Regions from separate parts of the Homo sapiens genome. Here all the other regions are linked to region 1. The links are contacts of gene promoters, found by promoter capture Hi-C in human tissues and cell types (Jung and others, 2019). All regions are on one chromosome and are shown on one strand. Each heading gives the region's core, a stretch centred on a gene start or on the middle of the fragment in contact. The rest is flanking DNA. Distances are from core to core; before and after follow the strand shown.

Evidence for each region. The method cuts DNA at HindIII sites, captures the fragments that hold promoters and counts their contacts. A contact is called where the count stands out against the background at its distance.
Region 2: a fragment that was not itself captured here is called in contact with the fragment with the promoter of MN1 in region 1 in 4 of the 25 tissues and cell types used here (dorsolateral prefrontal cortex, mesenchymal stem cells, neural progenitor cells and 1 more).
Region 3: a contact is called between a fragment that was not itself captured here and the fragment with the promoter of MN1 in region 1, in 1 of the 25 tissues and cell types used here (dorsolateral prefrontal cortex).
Region 4: a fragment that was not itself captured here is called in contact with the fragment with the promoter of MN1 in region 1 in 2 of the 25 tissues and cell types used here (dorsolateral prefrontal cortex and mesenchymal stem cells).
Region 5: a contact is called between a fragment that was not itself captured here and the fragment with the promoter of MN1 in region 1, in 2 of the 25 tissues and cell types used here (dorsolateral prefrontal cortex and hippocampus).
Region 6: a contact is called between a fragment that was not itself captured here and the fragment with the promoter of MN1 in region 1, in 2 of the 25 tissues and cell types used here (dorsolateral prefrontal cortex and lymphoblastoid cells).
Region 7: a contact is called between a fragment that was not itself captured here and the fragment with the promoter of MN1 in region 1, in 3 of the 25 tissues and cell types used here (aorta, dorsolateral prefrontal cortex and mesendoderm cells).

Annotation. Positions count from the first base shown.
Region 1 is chr22:27,800,313-27,803,012 of GRCh38, forward strand. It overlaps MN1 (MN1 proto-oncogene, transcriptional regulator), which reads right to left and starts at 1,444. Exons shown (of 2, transcript NM_002430.3): 1 at 1-1,444. The coding sequence starts at 231. The HindIII fragment of the contact is 23,630 bases long and covers 1-2,700 here.
Region 2 is chr22:27,169,166-27,171,990 of GRCh38, forward strand. No RefSeq gene overlaps it. Among named protein-coding and RNA genes, the nearest start is that of LINC01638, 54 kb to the right of the region's middle. RefSeq lists an enhancer at 1,005-2,204. The HindIII fragment of the contact is 4,126 bases long and covers 1-2,825 here.
Region 3 is chr22:27,040,590-27,043,371 of GRCh38, forward strand. No RefSeq gene overlaps it. Among named protein-coding and RNA genes, the nearest start is that of LINC01422, 140 kb to the left of the region's middle. The HindIII fragment of the contact is 3,673 bases long and covers 1-2,782 here.
Region 4 is chr22:27,121,725-27,124,424 of GRCh38, forward strand. No RefSeq gene overlaps it. Among named protein-coding and RNA genes, the nearest start is that of LINC01638, 100 kb to the right of the region's middle. The HindIII fragment of the contact is 5,567 bases long and covers 1-2,700 here.
Region 5 is chr22:27,187,085-27,189,789 of GRCh38, forward strand. It overlaps LOC105372977 (a long non-coding RNA gene), which reads left to right and starts at 436. Exons shown (of 3, transcript NR_171770.1): 1 at 436-513; 2 at 1,400-1,450; 3 at 1,780-2,131. The HindIII fragment of the contact is 4,365 bases long and covers 1-2,705 here.
Region 6 is chr22:27,059,220-27,062,070 of GRCh38, forward strand. It overlaps LOC284898 (a long non-coding RNA gene), which reads right to left and starts at 2,019. Exons shown (of 4, transcript NR_164796.1): 1 at 1,769-2,019; 2 at 890-1,355. The HindIII fragment of the contact is 5,422 bases long and covers 1-2,851 here.
Region 7 is chr22:27,147,957-27,150,667 of GRCh38, forward strand. LOC107985534 (a long non-coding RNA gene) reads left to right here. Exons shown (of 3, transcript XR_001755607.2): 3 at 1-1,268. Among named protein-coding and RNA genes, the nearest start is that of LINC01638, 75 kb to the right of the region's middle. The HindIII fragment of the contact is 6,381 bases long and covers 1-2,711 here.

The DNA of each region.
Region 1 (2,700 bases), core at 194-2,693:
CTCCGAGTGGCCGCGCGCGTGGAAGCCGTAGGGCTCCATGTTCATGCCCAAGATCGGGGGTTCGCCCAGCGCGCTCATAGCAGGATCCACAGGGCCAGGGGGCCCCCCAGTGTGGAAAGCCGGGGCCTTAAAGTGGGTGTTCATGCTCAGTCCGGTCTCGTTAAAGTTCCTCTCGCCCTGGCCAGCGTTCCTGCTGTTGACCTGGGGCTCGAATTGGTCCAGCCCAAACATACTTGGCGGGGGGCAGAGGGGGATCAATAGGGCATGACAGCCGGCTCTCCGCGGCGCGCCTCCGGCCAGCTACTCGTTCCAGCCCAGGATTGGGCGCTCCGGGACGCTCAGCACCGCGGGGGCTCAGCGCGCACCTCCACCCCGCCTGATGTGAGGGACGGGGGGCGGGGTATTAGCTCCTCTCCTGAAGCTCCGATTCTGCCCGGGGAGGGCCTCTCACATCTTGCGAGGCCGCGGGGCCTCTAGGAGCCGTGTTGGGGGGCCCATGCCCCGGGCGGTTGTCACAGCCGCGGGTGGGTCTGCGGGGAGGGGACGAAGCCGCGGATGAACGGAGACAAAAAGTTAAGTGGGGGGAATGGGGAGGGAAGGGGGTTGGGAGAGCAGAGCGATCACCTTCTCAAGTCCGATTGGGTCTGCTGGGGAGCCCTCAGGACGCCGCCCGCAGCCTCCCGGAGTCCGTGGCAGAGCTGCTAAGGGCAGGGGAGGGAGACCCTTCAAAGCCGCGGCTGGCGCCGGGCACCGACAGAGCGGTCCCTCCCCCCGCCCCCCGGAGTCCCCGCGCCCCGCAGCCCGAGCCTCCACCGAGCACGATCCGCTCGCACAATCCCCGTAGGCTCCGGGCGAGCGGCTGCTGCTTCTTCAGCGGGTCGGAGGACTGGAGGCTCCGCTCGGCATCGCCGGTGCCGGCCCCCGAGCCGAGGACGCAGAGGGGCTGCGAGGCGGCAGGCGCCGGGGGCTGGAGCCGAGGGTCGGGGAAAGGCGCGGCTCCTCTGCTCGGCAGCGGGTGCGCTGCGTTCGGCGCGCAGCTTCGCGGCCACGTCCGCCGCCTGCCGCTTCTGTTCTCCGCCGTTGGGTGTCTGAGTTCGCCGGAGTCTCCGCGCACCGTTGCAGGCGCGGGAGGGCAGCGAGACGAGGGGTTGGGTCGCTCCAAGGCTCCGGTTCCCTGCCTCCGCGCTGAGGTGCTTCGCGAGTCCCTCTCGGACCTGAGGGAGGGGGGCGTACGCGGGTCGGGGGGCCACGCCGGGCGAGCAGGCTAAGGCGTTCCCGCTGCGCTCTCAGAGCCCGGAATGGGGGGAGGGGGGCGCGGGGGCAGCTCTGGGGGGTCTGCGCACCCCTCTCCCGACTAGCGGGGGGGCTCTGCGTGGGGCGTTCCGAGGGTCTCGGCTCCCCTCTCTGTGTCTGCCTCTCGCCCAGCGCCGGGAGAAGCAGCAACAAGTTTTGCATTTCAGCAATCAATTTCAGCCATTACATTTGCACCAATCAGCGCCGCCCAAGTTCCGGGCTCGGGGCGGGGCTCGCTCTTAAGGTGGTCCGGGGTCCTGGCTGCCGAAGCCCCCGCCACGAACCCGCACTACCCCAGCTCTGGGGTCCCCTGCGCCCGCCTCTCCTCGGGGTCCGGCGTCAGTGCGCTGGGGGCGCGCCCCGGCCTCCGGGCGCATCGAGCTGGAGAGGGTGCAGGCGGAGGAGAATGGCGGGAGCTTGGCTTTGTTCACCCCCTTCCCATTCACACTGTTCCCAACTCCCCACCCCCAACTGGAGCGAGACCCACCGGGTGGGCAGGGGGCGGGGAGGTGGGCGGTGAGCGGTACGGGGCGCTCAGACAATGAGGTCGCCAGGCAAAGACCCTAGACTCGCCACGGAAAGTCGCTAAGTGTCTACTGCACTTCGGCTCCGGGGTGAACACTCCGTTCTCCGCTAGCGGCGCCCAAGTTAGCCGGCCCTGGGATTTTCTTGGAGGGTAAAGCAGACGGGGAACCTCGAAGTTAGGGTTCTCCTCGAGAGACCTGGGCGCTTGCTCACTCCTCCGTCACTAGGGCGTTCACAATTGTTCCCCTTCCCCACTGCCTGGGGTTCCCGGTTCTCACCGGCCGGCGTGGGCTCCAAGGAGTCACAGTCACTCAGCCACTTTATGGGGGAGCACATCGGTTGAGCCCAGTAACCGGAGCGACTTGCGAGGCGGCTGGGAACCCCGAGAAGACACGCACGAAGAGGGCGCACCCGCCGGGCCGCACACCTTGCCCTGGGCCACCCGGTCCAAGACCCAGACCCTCTGCGGGTGCGAAGTTGGCCTCCTTAAGAGATCAATTAAACTGAAGAGGCCGAGGAATGGAATTGGGCTGTGATACTAAAATCAATAGGAGTAATTTAATATCTGCCCTGCTCTTTATGAAATATTTATCCCAATAATCTTAGTTAAAATGTTTAGATCGTCCTGATCCCCACAGAGGCTGAAATCTATCTTGCAATTAGAAGTTGGAAGTTAGAGGTGATGGAGGATAGAGGTGTTTATTCTGTGCGCCTGTGTGCGTGTGCTCGCGCCTGCGTGCGTGTGTTTGTGCATGCGTGTGTGTGTGTGTGTGTGTTCCTCCCTAAAGTGTGTGTAGGGAAGGAGGGGGGAGAAGGCCTTTAATTTTCCTTGCCATAAAATAGCACGAGGCGATTTTGCTAGCAGATTCGCATTCTTAGGAG
Region 2 (2,825 bases), core at 83-2,582, 630 kb before region 1:
GGACATTATTCCAATATTTTATCTTCTATAAAATTATGTCAAATAGTCTTACATAAGCCATGATTGAGCCACCTAGAGCTGTTTTCAGAGAGCAGCATTCTACACATGTTTACTCAACACTCTAAGGAGATAGAGAGACTTCTGGTACAGCAGTTACGATAACAAGTTCTTCCATCAGTCTCTCTGGGTCAATTGCCTCACTCCTCTCCCCATCCCCCATCAGCTGTGGGATGTTGAATTAATGCTCTCAGTTCTTGACTTCTGTGTAGGAAGATGACATGTTCACACCTTTGCTGGGGCTTCAAGGTGTGGGGACAAATATTCCCCCAACCCTTGACTCTGGGCTTGAACATGTGGTTTCCTCTGGCCCATGGGACCTTGCCTTTTGCCATGAGTAGTTGTAGGTCCAAGGAGGATGGGAGATCAGTGGAGAAGATCTGGGGCTGAGCTCAGTCAAGACCAGTCTTGGAGACCCCCATTAACTCCTACATGCATGAGGGAGAAGTCAACACTTGTTTTCCTCCAAGATGTCTATGGTCACGTGTCATGTAACATTATTGTGGCCATACCTGACTGATACTTCAACTGTGTGACCTCTAGCAAGTTATTTAAGCTTCCTGTGCCTTAGTTTCCTCATTGGTAAAATAGAGAATAATACTATATTTTTCACCGTAATCAATCTTTCAGAGTTGTTGTGAGAATTATCTGTCATATAACACAAGTAAAGAATTGAGAACAATGCCTGGTTTATAAACGTCCAATAACTTTTGGCAAGTTAATATCATCATCCCTAAGTGACTCCATAAAAGCTGCTGATTACATTGAAGTAGCAATTTGGGGTAGACACCAATCAAGATCAAAGTCCAGCAGTAAATCAGTAGGTAGATAAATTTTCATGTTTGCAAATAATAATAGCACTTGCTGAACTCTTGTCTTATGCCCAACCCTGAGCTGAGATTACATAAGTTTTCATCTTGCTGAATTCCCAGAGCTGGGCTGTGAGGTAGACTTTACTGTTAACCTGTATTGATACATCAGGAAACTGAGAATTGGAGAGCTAGTTCACCTAGTTTGGAAGTGATGGAGCTGGGATTGAAACTGATGGAAACTCCAGGATCCATATCCATAAGCTCCATACTCCACAGCTGAGAGTTTATAGATGAGGAAACTGAGGCTCAGAGAAGGGAGATGCCTTGGCTGTGGTCACACAGCGGCTACTTGACTGAATCAGTTTCCACATGATCTTGTCAGTGCTGTAAGATGAAAGGCATCTCAGAGGGTGGCCCAGAGACAGAGAGAGGGTCTCCATTTTCCAGCTTTATTTCTGGGTGTCCAGGAATGTGTTTTGAGTTGGACTTGAAAAAGAAACTCCCTTGACATCAGAGAGGCAGTACTGGGCTGGGCCAGTGTGTGCCAAGGCTAACTGGGCATGCATTCCTGGACCAACTGCTGGAAAATGTGCAAACGTGGAAATATTTCCCCTGCTGAGTTCTGTAGTGTGCCGCTGTGGAGGCCTGCAAAGCTTGTCAGCCATGACTCACCCCTTCCACAAAGTTGGCCTGGTCATTTCGGGTGAGGACCAGGAGCACACAAGGTTGAATTGGATGTTTATGGCTCCCAAGGGACCCATCAGACGTGCTGCCTGCCTCCCATCTTCTTTCTGGCTGAGTTTTCAGAAATGTAGGTTAGGACAAAGTCCTGGAAGGAATAACAGGAGAATAAAGGGAGTGTATTGATAGAGTGCCTACTGCATACCAAGCCCTGGTTGAGCAGTTCTATATGTTATAAACTTGCTCTTTGAAGGATGATCCCAGCAGCATCAACATCCCTGCAGAGCCCGTTAGAAATGCAGGATTTCCAGCCCCATTGTAGACCTGCTGAATCAAAATCTTCGTCTTTAACCATATCCACAGGGGGTTCATCTACAAATCAGCCCTGTTAAAAATCTCATTGCATTCCCTCCAATGCAAACATGCTGACCCCCATTTTACAGAGGGAAACTGAGGCTCCGAGCAGCCAAGACTTGCAGAAGGTTCCCCCAGTGAAGGAGAGGCTGCACTGTCACCTGCAATGTGTCTATCTATCCCAGAACCCAGGATCTTTGGGGCGCATTACAAGCAAAATGGCTCAAAGCCCTGCGGTTGCAGGACCATAATAAAGAGGAGGGATGATATTGTGGAAAAAGCTTTTCAAAGTCAGCAGTTTATGTCTCAGCTCTGCCATTATCTTGCTAAGCCATCTCCCTAAGGACTCAGTTTCTTCATCCATGAAATGGGGGCAGGCATCAAACCACATGGCCTCTGCAATCATTTTTAGCTGGGAGATTTTGATTTGAGGACCCAGAGGATTGGTGGTGCTCAGGGTCTCTCCCATCTCAACATAAGGTTGAACCACACCCAACCTCCACTTTCCAAGAGCTTCCCAGGGGCCTCTCCCATTCCCCAGTCAAACAGAACTGCCCAACCGCCTCAAACGCCACACAAAATCACAGGCAACAGGGCAGAAAACCCAATTATCTCAGCTGTTACACTGCTTAATTTAATATTTCCAACGAGTTCCTTGAGTCTGCTTCTCAAGAATGAAATGCATATTTGGGCTCTGTCACAAAACATTACATTTTGTCAAGGCAATCCATTTTGCTGCGGTAATTTGTAAGTGTGCAGCGCTCTCCCTCATCACCCCACCCGCCACGTGGTCTGGAGGCTTCTATAGTGTCTTCTGGGAAGAGACAAGAAACTGGGAGTCTCTGCAATGACAGGCAGGTGGGAATGGCAGAGAAACAGGACCTGATATGCATCTGGCTTTCTGAAACTCCACAAAGAAAG
Region 3 (2,782 bases), core at 274-2,773, 760 kb before region 1:
CCGTGAATCAGTCCTCTGAAGTCATGCACACAAACTCATCATGTCCTTAGAGAGAGGCCAGAAACAGGTCCCTGGCATCCCAAAGAACAAAGGAGCATGGTATCACAGGGAAAGGTGCTCTGGGCCAGGACTCAGAATCCAGATGTGGGCTCTCACTGGCCCGGGGTCAGACTCTTTAGCTAGTTGTTCTGGCCTCATTTTTGTCACTGAGAAACAATGGGTTAAGTAAGGGGGAAGAACGGAGCGTGCTTCATAGGGTTATTGTGAGAGGTAAGCAGGACAATGCATCTGAAATGCTTAGCACATAGTAGGAACACCAAATCTATTAGCTTGTTTTCCTCTTTCCTTGGGGTAGAGCTACATTTTGTGCAATATGCATCACACTTCCATTTGCTCTCTGACCAGTATAAAAATTAAAATATATATATATATGTATATATTCACACACAGATATATATATTCATCAAGAGAGACTAAATAAAGAAGAAAACTATGCTCACTGGCTAGTAGAAAGATCCGTCACTACCAAGGAATATGTTTTGGTGTATGTGGGGACAAAAAGACATTCTGTGGTTCAATAGGTTAGTAAGCCTTGCACTGATAAAAGTAAATGGGTGTCCATCCTGGCTAACACGGTGAAACCCCGTCTCTACTAAAAATACAAAAAAAATTTAGCTGGGTATGGTGGCGGGCGCCTGTAGTCCCAGCTACTTGGGAGGCTGAGGCAGGAGAATGGCATGAACCTGGGAGGTGGAGCTTGCAGTGAGCAGAGATGGCACCACTGCACTCCAGCCTGGGCGACAGAGCGAGACTCTGTCTCAAAAAAAAAAAAGTAAATGGGTGTCTTTCCCATAAGGTAGGTTGACCCTTAGCATGAGATGTGCATTGCAAAGCAACAAGAAGAACTTAGATATTCGGTGTTTTCTTTTTTTTTTTTTCCCCAACCTATGTGGCGGTGAATGCTCTGTATGGGGCATCTCTCTGGACTAAGCCTCTAGGGCACACTACTAGGGGCTGGGGCAGGGAATTAAAAACTGCAGTAGCCAGTCTCTAAGAGCTCCTCTAACTCGTGAAAGTTGATGCCTCTATTTTAGCTGTTTCATTTGCCTTTTTTTTCAATAACTCCTCTACGTAACTCTTCTTCATTTTTGTCTGTGCTTGTCTTGATGCGGTTCACAATCATGGTTTTATTGACCTTGTTTTCGTGTTACAAAATCACTCTGTGTTTGTGATTTGTTTCATGGTATTTCTCAAGAAGTGGCTTCAATCCCCTCTGGGATAGGCACATTACTATGTACCACAGGGCAGGCCAGGCTGCAGGAGGAGCTTGCAGTCCTGGAGGCTTCTGGCTCTCCTCTCACCCCGCTGCCCGCCCCTCAGTGATTAGTTGGAATCCAAGACAGCAATACAAGATGTGTCGTTGGTGGGAGTGATGGAGTGCCTGCTGAGTGGGCCGCAGATAAGCACCGTGATTTCGGAGGACGCTTCATCATTTCGCCGTAAGAACATGTTAACGGGTGATTGTTTGAATGTCTCCAGCTAATAGGATATTATTCATAACACTCTGGCTAGTTGGAATGGAAGATGATAAGAAATTAAATCCTTAATGGCTTTCTTTAAGGGAGGACTTTTCCCAGGGGAACCAGGAACCCTGGGAAATCGCTCCATGTACCCTGGCAATATCTATACGGAGAGAATTGGCTTTAAATGAACCTCTGAGGGTTACACAAAGGGTAAAAGAAAGAGAACAAAAAGCAATTGACATTAACCGGGTCCCTACTACGTGCCAAGTACTTAGACATTTTACCTACATCACGTTACTTCATCCTGGCCCTGTCTCTGTTGTGACAAGGCACTATTAAGCTCATTTCAGAACTGGGAAAACTGAGGCACACAGAGGTGAGCTGACTTGGCCAAGGTCTCATTTCTGGTGCTGGAGTCACGATTTACATTCTAAAGCAATATTCTTCTCGTGAAATGAATTATGGAGAGAGAAGTTGTCTGGGAGAAGTAGCCCTCACATGCAATTTGAAAGGTGGAGAAGCCATAGTCGCATAGAGGTAGCTGCAGCAGGTGCAGAGGGAAGGCGAGGGTTGTGCAGGTGGCTTCTATTGATGCCTGGGAATCATCTATTTCCTGGATACCTGCAGCCAACATTACCCATGAATATTTCCTGCGGTCCCTGAGCTTCCGCATTTCCTGGAAGCTTTTCTGAGCTTTGCTCTCCCTGTCTTTCCAACAAGTAAGGAAGCTTCTGACTCTATGTATCAAATCCCCTCCTGCTTGAAATACTGAGAAGAATGACAGAACCCTGCTTGCAAAGTACCCTGCGTAAGCATTACACACATGCATGGCACACACACACACATACTCAACTCACAAAGGTAAATTCCCAAGAATAGAATTACAGGTCACACATGTTGGGGACATAAGATATTACAATGATAACAGTAACAGTATGGTTTTTTTTTCCAACATGGAAACCATTTCTGGAACAATTTCTACAAGCCTGGGAAGAAAGAGACCACACTACTTTTTACCAACAACTGCTTTTTACACATAATGAAATCCTCCTTCTAGATAAACAGGACAGAAATGGTGGTGAAATTCTTCAACAAGCAAGATTCACTTTCAGTGGGAACTCACCATAGCAACTGGCTGCAAATATTTAAAAGTGAATGCGATTTTTGTTTGTTTGTTTTGATTTTTGCAGGGTACAAAATATCCAATATGTTCCCAGCCTCCCCACTCTTCTTCCTTCAGGTCTCATCAGCTCCCACAG
Region 4 (2,700 bases), core at 97-2,596, 680 kb before region 1:
AAATAGAATCACAGGATGCCTTTTCACTGGACTTAGAAAAATGTATCCAAGCTTCTTGCTCCTGATACTGCAGGGCTTGGTCTCTGCCTTCATCTCCATTCTCTTGTCCTGTGTCGGCCTCCCTCCCATTTCTCAGGTAGGATAAAGTCATTCCCATCTCAGGGTCTTCATGCAAACTCACTGGCCCCCTACCTCCAGCACTGTGCCCACGTCTCTTGCAGAGGCAATCCCTACTTCTCATTCATGTCTAGCCCAAATACCAGTCCCCAGAGGGACCTTCTCTGACCATCCTAGCCCAAGCCTAACTCTTTCTGGCTCATTGCATCCCATCACTCAGTTTTATTTTCTTTGTAGTCCTTATGTAAAATTATTTCATGTACACATAGATATTTACTTATTTCCTGCCTGTCTCCTCTTGCTCCAGAGTGTTTACACGAAGGCAGGGATTTTCTTTTTTTTTTTTTTTTTTTGAGACGGAGTTACTCTGTGGCCCAGGCTGTAATGCAGTGGCATGATCTTGGCTCACTGCAATCTCCACCGCCTGGGTTCAAGCGATTCTCCTGCCTCAGCCTCCAGAGTAGCTGGGATTACAGGTGTGAGCCACCACATCTGGCTAATTTTTGTATTTTTAGTAGAGATGGGGTTTCCCCATGTTGGCCAGGCTGGTCTCGAACTCCTGACCTCAGGTGATCCACCCACCTCTGCCTTCTGAAGTGCTAGGATTACAGACGTGAGCCACTGTGCCCAGTCGAAGGCAGGGGTTTTGCCTGATGTATTCCCTACTCTATCTCCAAGGCTTCACAGAGGACTTTGCACATAATAGGTGTCCAATAAACAATTGCCGAGTGGGTGAATGAATAGTGCTTTGCACCATTCCTTGAAAAGCCTTTCATGAGCGGCTCCTGGCTTCTTTTTTCCTGTGACTACAATTATATATTTACGAGGTAATCAGCAATCGAAAAGTTCCCCGTAATAGTAACTGGAGCTTAACATACAAATAAACTGAACACCATTAAGGACGTTTTGTGGCCACCGGGGTGGATCAAGTGAGCTAATCGCCCAACTCACAGCAATTAAGTCAATTAACCATTTAGACATATGCTGAGCCATTTCCCGGCTCCAGTTTCCCGGGGCATCTGTGAAATTTGTGCGCTTTATTTATGGCCTGAGCTTCTGGTCGTAGTTAGTAACTGGGATGACTGGGGAAGTGAGAAAAGGTGGCTGGTTAAATTTTTAAAAAGTCAGTGTGATGGCAAAGAACGAGAAGCTGGACCTTTTCCCTCTGTGGACGCTTTCTCCTCCTTCCTTTCCTGTGTGCGGAAAGGATGGGAAAGGCAACTATTTCTTGCCTCGATTTTTTAATTTTGTATGTTTGGGGCTGCTTTTAACACCTGTGCGTGTCATGAAGGGAGATAGAAAAAAAAAGGCGGGGGGATGAATTGGGTGGGGGCGAGGGGTAACTCCTTGGGACACAGACTCAGATCTGGGTTCAAGTCCTGACTCTGCCTCTCAGGAGCTGAGCCTGAATTTCCTTATCTGGGAAATGGGGAATTACAGAGCCTGCCTCAGAAGCTTGGGGTGAGAATTAAAGGGGTGGACAGTGTAAAGTCCTTAAGTAGTGCCCGATGCAGAGAAAGTGCTAAATATGGGGTAGTTATTATTTGTGATTTTTTTTGAAACAAAGTCTTACTCTTGTCACCCAGGCTGGAGCGCAGTGGCGCGATCTCAGCTCACTGCAACCTCCGCCTCCCGAGTTCAAGCGATTCTCCTGTCTCAGCCTCCCGAGTAGCTGGGATTACAAGCGCCTGCCACCACACCTGGCTAATTTTAATATTTTTAGTAGAGATGTGGTTTCACCATGTAGGCCAGGCAGGTCTTGAACTTCTGACCTCAGGTGATCTGCCCGCCTCGGCCTCACAAAGTGTTGGGACTACAGGCGTGAGCTACCGTGCCCAGCCTTTGCGATCATTATTATTGAAAGACTGAAGAAAGGGAGGCAGAAAGGGCCCAGAGACTGGGGTCAGACACGATTGTTGCAACCCCAGCTCTTGCTGGCATCACACTGCCACATACAACTAACTTCACTTCTCTGGGCCTCAGTGTGTGTGCGCATCTGAGAAATGGGACTGATAATGCCAGGAGGGGTCTTCACAGGAAATAGGTCTGATGCTTGCAAGGCTCTGGCCTGTGATCCTCTTCATCCCACTGGTTTCTTCTTTGCATTTTTAAGAAGGAATTCAAGGAGCTTGCCCCAGGTCTCCAAATAAGTTACATAAATGGAGCCCAGGCCTCCAATTCTGATTTCAGAGCAGCTTCCACCCTGCCTTGAGGCACTTTACAATCATGTAAAACAAAGCCATTCTTTAGAAGTGAGGCATGTTCCCAGAGATAATTAGTATGTATAGATTGGATGCTTTTGAAAGTACTGCATAAAGCCTTTCATGGATATTATGTAATTTAAACCTTACAAAGAAACCCTGAGAGCATAGAAAAGGCTCAGGAAAGGCAGGTAACTTACCCCGGGTAACACAGCCTGGAAGTGGCACAGTCAGGATTCGAACCAGGCTCTGGCTGAGTCAGACACTCATACCCACTGTGCTCTCCTGCCCATGGCATGTGTGCTGTGATTTTCTCTACATGGTACTCCAGTTTGCAGGAAAATGAAAGCGTCCCAGTTTCAAGATTAATCACTGGCTTTTG
Region 5 (2,705 bases), core at 141-2,640, 610 kb before region 1:
CAGTATTCTTTCCCATTGTCTCCCAAAAGCTAAAGAAAAGCCCTGGTAATTCACGAATTCTGCATCTGAATTATATTTCTCCAAGGAGTCCTTGTTCTTAGAAGTGGTAGGAAAATACTTCGTGTGATTGTGTAACCTGATTTTTTTTTTTTTTTTTTTTTTTTTGGTGGTGGTGGTGTCGGTAGGGAGATGAGAGGAGCTAGTCTTTTCTAAAACTGTGATAATAATAATGGTCTCACTGCCTACCATGTGTTGAGGGCTTAATGGTATTCCAGGCTCTGCACTGAGCATTGTGCAAGCATCATCTTATTTAACCCTTTCAGCCCTGCTAGGAGATGGCTGCTGGCATTGTCATGTCATAGTGACAAGAAAGCAAATCATATTTTTGTCACTTGCCAAAAACCACACAATTAGAGAGTGGCAGAGCTGGAATTCAGTTTCTTAAGTGCTGGGTCATCTGTGCAGCTTCACTGAACTTCCATCCCACCTTCTTTGGCCTGGAGAGGAAGCAAAGTTAAGCAGGATATCTCTTTCTTTCCTTCTTTCCTTCCTTCCTTTCTTTCTTTCCTTTCTTTTTTTCTTTTCTTTTTTCTTTTTTTTTTATGACGTCTCTCTCTGTCGCCCAAGCTAGAGTGCAGTGGCACAATCTCGGCTCACTGCAACCTCCGCCTCCCAGGTTCAAGCAATTCTCCAGCCTCAGCCTCCCTAGTAGCTGGGATTACAGGTGCTCACCACGATGCCTGGCTAATTTCTGTATTTTTTTTTTTAGTAGAAACGGGGTTTCGCCATGTTGGTCAGGCTGATCACGAACTCCTGGCCTCAGGTGATCCACTCACGTCAGCCTCCCAAAATGCTGGGATTACAGGCGTGAGCCACCGCACCTGGCCTAAGCAGGATATTTCTAGACTCTCTTGAAGCTAGGCTTCTGGATGCAGATTTGTTCCTGCCAATGAGAGGTATTGATGTGAGATTTAGGAAGCTAATGTGAGTCCATCCTCTAGCAGTTTGTGGCTATTGCTATCGGCAAATAGTGTGGTGGTAGTAACTGGAGGTTTTCCTGCAACGGGGACCTCACTTCATTCTCCCACATCCTAGACATCAAGAGGCAGTGGTGTTAGAAATACAACAGCGCCTTGCATCTGGCATAAGTCTGGCAGTAACTGTCCAAGTGCCTCTGCTCTGTGTATTCTGGGAGTTATTCTAGGAGACTTAACCTAGAACTTGCTCCTTCTCTGCTTCCAGTGGTCTTACATGCCCTGGATTCCCTGTGTTAAATCCCTTCCTGCTCAAGATACCTAGGCTGGATTCTGTTTCCTGCATGGAGCCTGGACTGATACATTGGGTGGCATCAGGGAAACCCATTCTAGTTTCTGAGCCTTACTTTCTGTACCACTTGCAGAATCATAGAAAGGCTGTAATGAGGGAGTGGAAGCAAAAGAGCTTTCCAAAGGTAAGTCTTTCTGCAGATATCGTGGCCCGATCAGAAGGTACTCTTCCAAATAGAAGACATGGGATGTAGTTTCCCCAGTAAATGGCCCATACTCACCCGTTACTTTGAAAGCCATTATAGAGCCTGCTACCTAAACAGCTCGCCAAGGACTTGGAGAGCACCTGGAATATGGAACAAGGGGCAGGACAGGCTTTTAGCTCATGTCTGTTTCTGCTCCTCTTCACTCTTGATTCTACCACCTGTGCCAGCTCACCTGGGGGCCTTGCTATGATAGCACAGTGAGGAGCTCCTGACATGAGCTACATAACCCTTGCCCTTCTATCTTACAGGAGACATGGCAGAATGCCCCCAGGAACAGACTCCACCTCACCACTCTTGAGATGTTGCAGCTTCAGGAAGTCTGCAGTGCTGATCAGGGACCTGCAGGATCTTGTTCACCTAACAGAGAAATAGGTCTGAAGCAGACTACTATGAGAATGAAGTCAGCTATCTGCCAGGATGCCTCAGCCACCATCAAGACTTTTGTGTGCAGAGAAACAGGATTTAAGAGGGGAGGGACTGAAAGGCTGTGGAAGCCACTGGGTTCAGTCATCCATTCAATCCACATTTTTTGACCACTCCTTATGTGCTAGGCCCTGTGCTTACACTCAGGATTTAATAGTAAAGAAATTATTGGACCCCATTGGGCTGATAGTATTTCAGGGGAGAGAGACGTGAACATGGTTATACATGAGGGTGATTAGTGTCAAATTGTGGGAAGCAAAGTGGGTGGGGTGTGTGTGCTGTGGAAGCCCAGGGAAACCACCTGATTCAGTCAGGGGCAATCAGGGAAGGATACCTGGAAGAGGTGACACCTAAGCCAAGACTTGATGAGCATATACGAATATTTTTGGCAAACAGTGATGGTGAAGTGAGGGGAAAAATGCTTCTAGAGAGAACAGCCTGAGTGAAGACTCTGGAATGAGAATGAATTTATCCCAGGACTCAGAGATGTTCAGAAGTGCTGAGTAAGGGGTGATGGGGAGAAGAGCAGAGCCAGACCTCACAGGGCCCTGGAGACCAGGCTAAGGAGCATGGCTTTGTTGTGAGGACACTGAGAAACCATGGAACGGTTTTGGGCAGGGAAAGGTGTTACAGTTATTGATGGTTGCATAAATCCATAGAGCTTCTATTTCTCTAATAGACTATTTTTTAGAACAGTTTCAAATTCACAGCAACATTGTGAAGAAAGTACAGTGAGTTCCCACCTATCCCT
Region 6 (2,851 bases), core at 132-2,631, 740 kb before region 1:
GACAATATTTCATTCAGTCAATAAGTGTATAAGCCTAGCACATTTATTGGTATCACTTAGCAAATATGCCCATGGTGTTTACCTGTGGAAGTGGACAGCTAGATTTCTAGCTGAGTGGTTCGTGAATTCACCTGGTTTAAAAACTCTCAGGAAGGGCTGGGCTTAAAGTTCCACCAAAAAACTGCCCTAGGCTCAGGACCTGTTCTTTGAACACCATCAGTCATATAGGAGGCCATTTACATCCAAGATGGAATAAAAACCAAGATGGCACCCTACAGAGTAAACACCAAGATGGCGCCTTACAGAGTAAAATCCAAGATGGTCACTATGGAACCAAAGGTGGCCATTTGCACCCATGGGCTACTGAGGTTGCGAGTGGCAGGACATAAAGTAACTTGGAGGCTAAGCCCACAGCCCTGGAAGGGCCAGAAACTGTAGAGAGTGACCTATGGATCCTGGAACACCAAATGACCCCAGGGCTGAGAACCTGAGCCCCAAAATACTTGATTGCCCCATCAGAGATCCCACAGAGGGAAAGACGCCCAACTTCCTAGCCAGCATGAGTATGGATGGTGAAGGGTAGATTTTAAGCAGGACCACCGAGGCATGAGAGAATTCCTGTTTCCACTTGCCATTTTCCAGCTGGGACATTGTTAAACACCACTTTCTGTTAATTAAGCATTTCTGAGAGGCTTACACTAGATTGCTGGCAAGAAGTGAACAAAGCCTGGCTGACCTGTCTTGTAGGTACTTGGAGGTGTGTGAGGGAAAGGGGCAGGAATGTGTGGCACAGGCAAAGTGACAACACTGTCCAAGAAACAAATTGCCACCTTGGGAGCAGAGAGACGATTGTTCCAATGATCAATGTTGGAAAACCAAAGGTACTCACCCATATCTGGCCTCGGCCTGGCTGCAGACATAACCTGGAGAAAGCAATTCACACTGATTTTTCCCAGCCCTGGGATCCACCTTCAGCCTGGGATCCAGGCCTTCGGTAATGAGCAGCCCTGGCGAATGAGGTTTGGAGTCGAAATCCATCTGAGGGCTCTCTCCCTGCCAACGTCTACAGCTTAATAATTGCTTCCTCGCTCCTGCTACATTCAGGTTCAAGAGGAGCGTGAGCCCCTCCAGCAGCATTATGCAAATAGGGCCCACTCCGTTCCGGCGGCATATAGAATATGTAAATTTATGGCGGTGGTGGAGGCTGTTTAAGACAGAAGATTTCTCAATGATGAAATTAGATTTTCTGGAAAGAGGCTTCCGAGGACCTGTCTCCGTTCCTCTGCCTCGTGCTGTGCTGTAGCCACAAAACCGGGGCTCTGGGAAATAGTTAACCGAATTACAGTCTCAAGCCTCTTTAAAAAAAAAATAAGGAAAGAAATAGACCAGGTTTCATGAGGCCACAACAAATTCATACTTTACAGAATGTGTAAACAGGAAGGGAGGCTGAGTGGGAGGGAGGGAGGCTGTTGTGGAGCATGGGCTCTGGCTAGCAGGAGGCATTAATGCAGAGCAGAGAGGCTACAGCATCACCTTGGCCTTCACACCTGGCCCTGCGGAGCCTCCAAGCAGGGGGACAAGGATGGGGAGAGTGAACAGAACCGTGGGTCCTGGTGGCTGCCTCACCCTTAATGCTGCAGCTCTGATCTGCTTCCTGTGCCTGCCTTTTCATGAATTTGATAGAAGGAAGTATTGATGTCATTTCAAAAAATGCAAAATTAGCAATCTAGACCAGAGGTTCTCAAACTTGAACATGCATCAGACTTACCAGGAGGGCTTGTGAAACACAGATTACTGGATCCCACTCCCAGAGTCCCAGAATTAGTCCATTCAGGGAGGGCTCGAGAATTTGCATCTCCAACAAGCTCCCTGGTGACGGCTAATGCTGCCAGCCCAGGCAACACACGTTGAGAACCATGGCCCTAGAGTACTGTTTTCATTTGACAGACGGGGGAAATTGAACCCCAGAGAATTAGGTGCTTTGCCAAAAGTCACACAGTGGAGTCAAGGCCCAGGTACGGATCTACCTCTCTCCACCATTTTTGTCCTTGGTCATTGTCATCATCATCACCATTGTCACTGTCATTTGCTAAGACCTTTCAACATGCTAGGCACAGTGCTAGGCACATGTATGCCTTATTCATTTAGCCTTTACTGCGGTTCTACACGAGAGCTGCTGCTATGATCCCCACGAGGATCCTGAGGTTCAAATTCAAATTGCTTCACCTCTTGAGCCTCAGGTTTCTTATTTGTAAAATGGGGAGTTCTCATCCTTCAGAATGTTGGGAGGATTTAATGAGATTTTACACTTAATGTGCTCAGCACAGAGCCCAGCAAATGGAAAAGACTCAGTTATTAGATATTATAGTAATAATAATAATAATTATTATTAGTCAAGTTGTGGGGATTAGGAAACAGAGTGAGGTTATGAAGTGAGATTAAGGATTAAGAATATAAAGATCTTGATTTCAGTCCCTAGTCCTAAACTCACCTGCTGTAAGACTGGACAGGATGGCGTCACCCCCATTCTCTAAGGTCCAGCTTTTGTGAAAAGGGGTGGAGGCAACTTAAAGGTCCCAGGTTACTTTCAGCTGTAAAATTCTCTGATTCCATAATTCCAAGATTGGGATAATTTATCCCCCTCCCCACATTGCCCCAGTGTGGGTACTATCCCTCCTCTCCTGGGCTGTTACCCAGTCTCCTCCTGGGCTCCTTGCCTCTGGTCTCAACCCAGCCAATCCACCATTCTAAAATTCCCAAAAGCCAACCTGATTCTGTGCTCTGCTGCTGAAACTTTCCATAGCTCACTATTTATCTGCTTTCAGTCAAGTCCGACCATCTCAGCTTGGCA
Region 7 (2,711 bases), core at 116-2,615, 650 kb before region 1:
AGTATTCATACTATGCCCCACCCAGCAGGCTTCAGGCAATGAGGAACTATAAGCATGGATGTGAATGTGTTCTGGACATGGAATGGATGATACAAAGAGAATGGATACTCAGGTGCCCAGAGAGCCCTGGCTTTGTTCCTGGAAGTGGTCAGATAAAAAAACCAAAAAAAAAAAAACAGTTTGGATGTGGAGTCAGGAAGAACTAGGTTCAAATATTACCTTTTCCACTTAATCAGTGCCTGACCTTTGGCAGGTAACTCTACCAACCCTTCCACCCGCCTTTTGTAAATATTCACAGAGTGAGGGTCATGTGCAAGATACAGAAGTCAGTCTGGATTCAAATAGGCTCTGCTGGGGTGACATGTAGGAATCTGCACAAGTGATTTGTCATCGTCACCATCATCATCACTGAGGCACAGCACACATATAATACAATGCATAAATCTAAAAGCAAAACCTGAAGAATTTCTGCATGTGCATAGTGTTGTAGACTAAATTGTGTCCTCCCACCCCCTGAAAAGTTATCTATTGAAGTCCTGACCTTCATAACTTGGGAAAATGGCTGTATTTGAAGACAAGATCTTTAAAGAAGTAAAGTAAAATGAGGCCATTAGGGTGGGCCCTAATCCATTTTACTGATGTCATGCACGGATGCATGTGTACAGAGGAAAGGCCATGTGAGGACACGGCGAGAAGACGGCCACCTGCAAGCCAAGGAGAGAGATCTCAAGAGAGACCAAACCTGCTGGCCCCTGATCTTACACTTCCAGCTTCCAGAATTGTAAGAAAGTAAACTTCGGTTGTCCAACCTACCCAGTCTGTGGTATTTTGTTATGGTAGCCTGGTCAGACTAATACACATAACCTTGTGTAACCAGCACTACGATTAGGAGCAGAATATTTCCAATAACCCAGCAGCCCCTGCCATCATGACCTTCTCAATCTTGCCCTCTACCCCCAGAAGTAATCATTGCTCTGATCCCTGTTATCATCAACTAGTTCTGTCCATTTCTGAACTTCATATAGGTGGAACCATACAATATGTTTCCTTTGTGCCTGGCTTCTTTGACTCAGCATTCCATTTCTGAAATGCATCTTTCCTATTGGGTGCAGCCGTCATTCATTCTTTTTCTTTGCTGTATAATATTCCACCGTGTGACTTCATCACAGTTTGTTTATCCATTTCCCCATTGATACACATTTTGGTTGTTTCTATTTTTTAGCTCTTTTGAATAAAGCTCTTATGGGCATTCTTGTGCAAGTCTTCAATAGCCCTGCACACTCGTTTTTCGAGGGGTATATACTCAGGAATAAAATTGCTGAGTCACAGCTTAAATGTATATTTAGCTTTAATTAATGTTAGAGTTTGTGCTTTAACCTTTCCGCACCTCGCCTTCCTCATCCGTAAAATGGTGCCTGACACCTAAGGCTGTTACGAGGATTAAATGTGATTATCTATGTAAAGTATGAAGAAAAAAGCTAGATGCAGAATGATATGTAGGGCTAGATACCATTTATATAAAGTTTAAAAACCTGCATGAGCAACACGACATAATGTTTATGGATACATAATCGTGTAATAAACATTTAAAAACATCTATTGGCATAATAAACTCCAAATTTAGGCTGGTGGTAGGAGGATAGGAGGGAAAACTGAGATTAGGGTTGGCACACAGAGGGTGATTCTATCTGCAGTGTCTTGTTCAAGAAGAAAAAAATCTGCAGCAAAGAGACCATAAGGTTAAGATTTTTAAAAGCTGGTGTTTATGATATTATCTCTATCTTTATCTGTATGTTGGAAACACTTTTCATTAAATCAGATACATTATTACTAAATATATAATATTAATCTACAAAATATTAATACCATGTAAGATTTACATACTGCCCAGGACACAGTATGCAAATGAGTTCTAGTTATTGTTATTATTAATACTAATTGCCTATTGTATGCCAGATTCTACATCCAAGGGCTCTGGCATGCTGGGTGAATCACACCTAGAAAACTAAATCCAATCCAGACACTGTAGATGCAGCTGTCGCATAGTGCTTGGCTCAGAGTAGGTTCTCAGGAAACGCGAGCTTTTGTAATTTTCTTAAAATGCTCGAACGTCACTAAGCATGCTGGCTTTGGCTAAACATGTCAGCCCTTCTGGGTGTCCCAATCTAACCAAACCAACAAACAAAGAAACCCAGAAAACCAGGCATTGAAGGGAGTCACAGAATACTGCTCCTAGCTTAGCCAGAGAGCCTGGCCCGGTGAATGATTCCATTTCTCTGGACACACGCACAGAGTACCCAACAACCAGGCTGCTCATGACAACGGGCTCCAGCTTTAACAAATGTAGCACTAGCACTATTTATTTTCCAAACGTGGTTGAGTTTCGACTCAAGGGGATGCAGTTAGGAAAAATAATGACCAGGAAACACACACACACACAAGCACACACACACACATGCACACACACGCATGCATGCACACATTGGCTCACACAGAATAAGACAACGGCAACCAGACTTCCTGGGTTAGGAGGGGCAGGAAATGGAAAAGATAAACATAAAGAAAAGGAGCTTCTTTTGTATCACTTTAAGAGGAAGAAAAAAGCCCATCAGGCATGCATGCGTGTGTGCGCATGTACGTGTGTGTGCATGTGCGTGTGTGTTGAAAGGACAGCAATTGAGTGAAGAGGGAACAAGTGTGGTTTGCTTAGA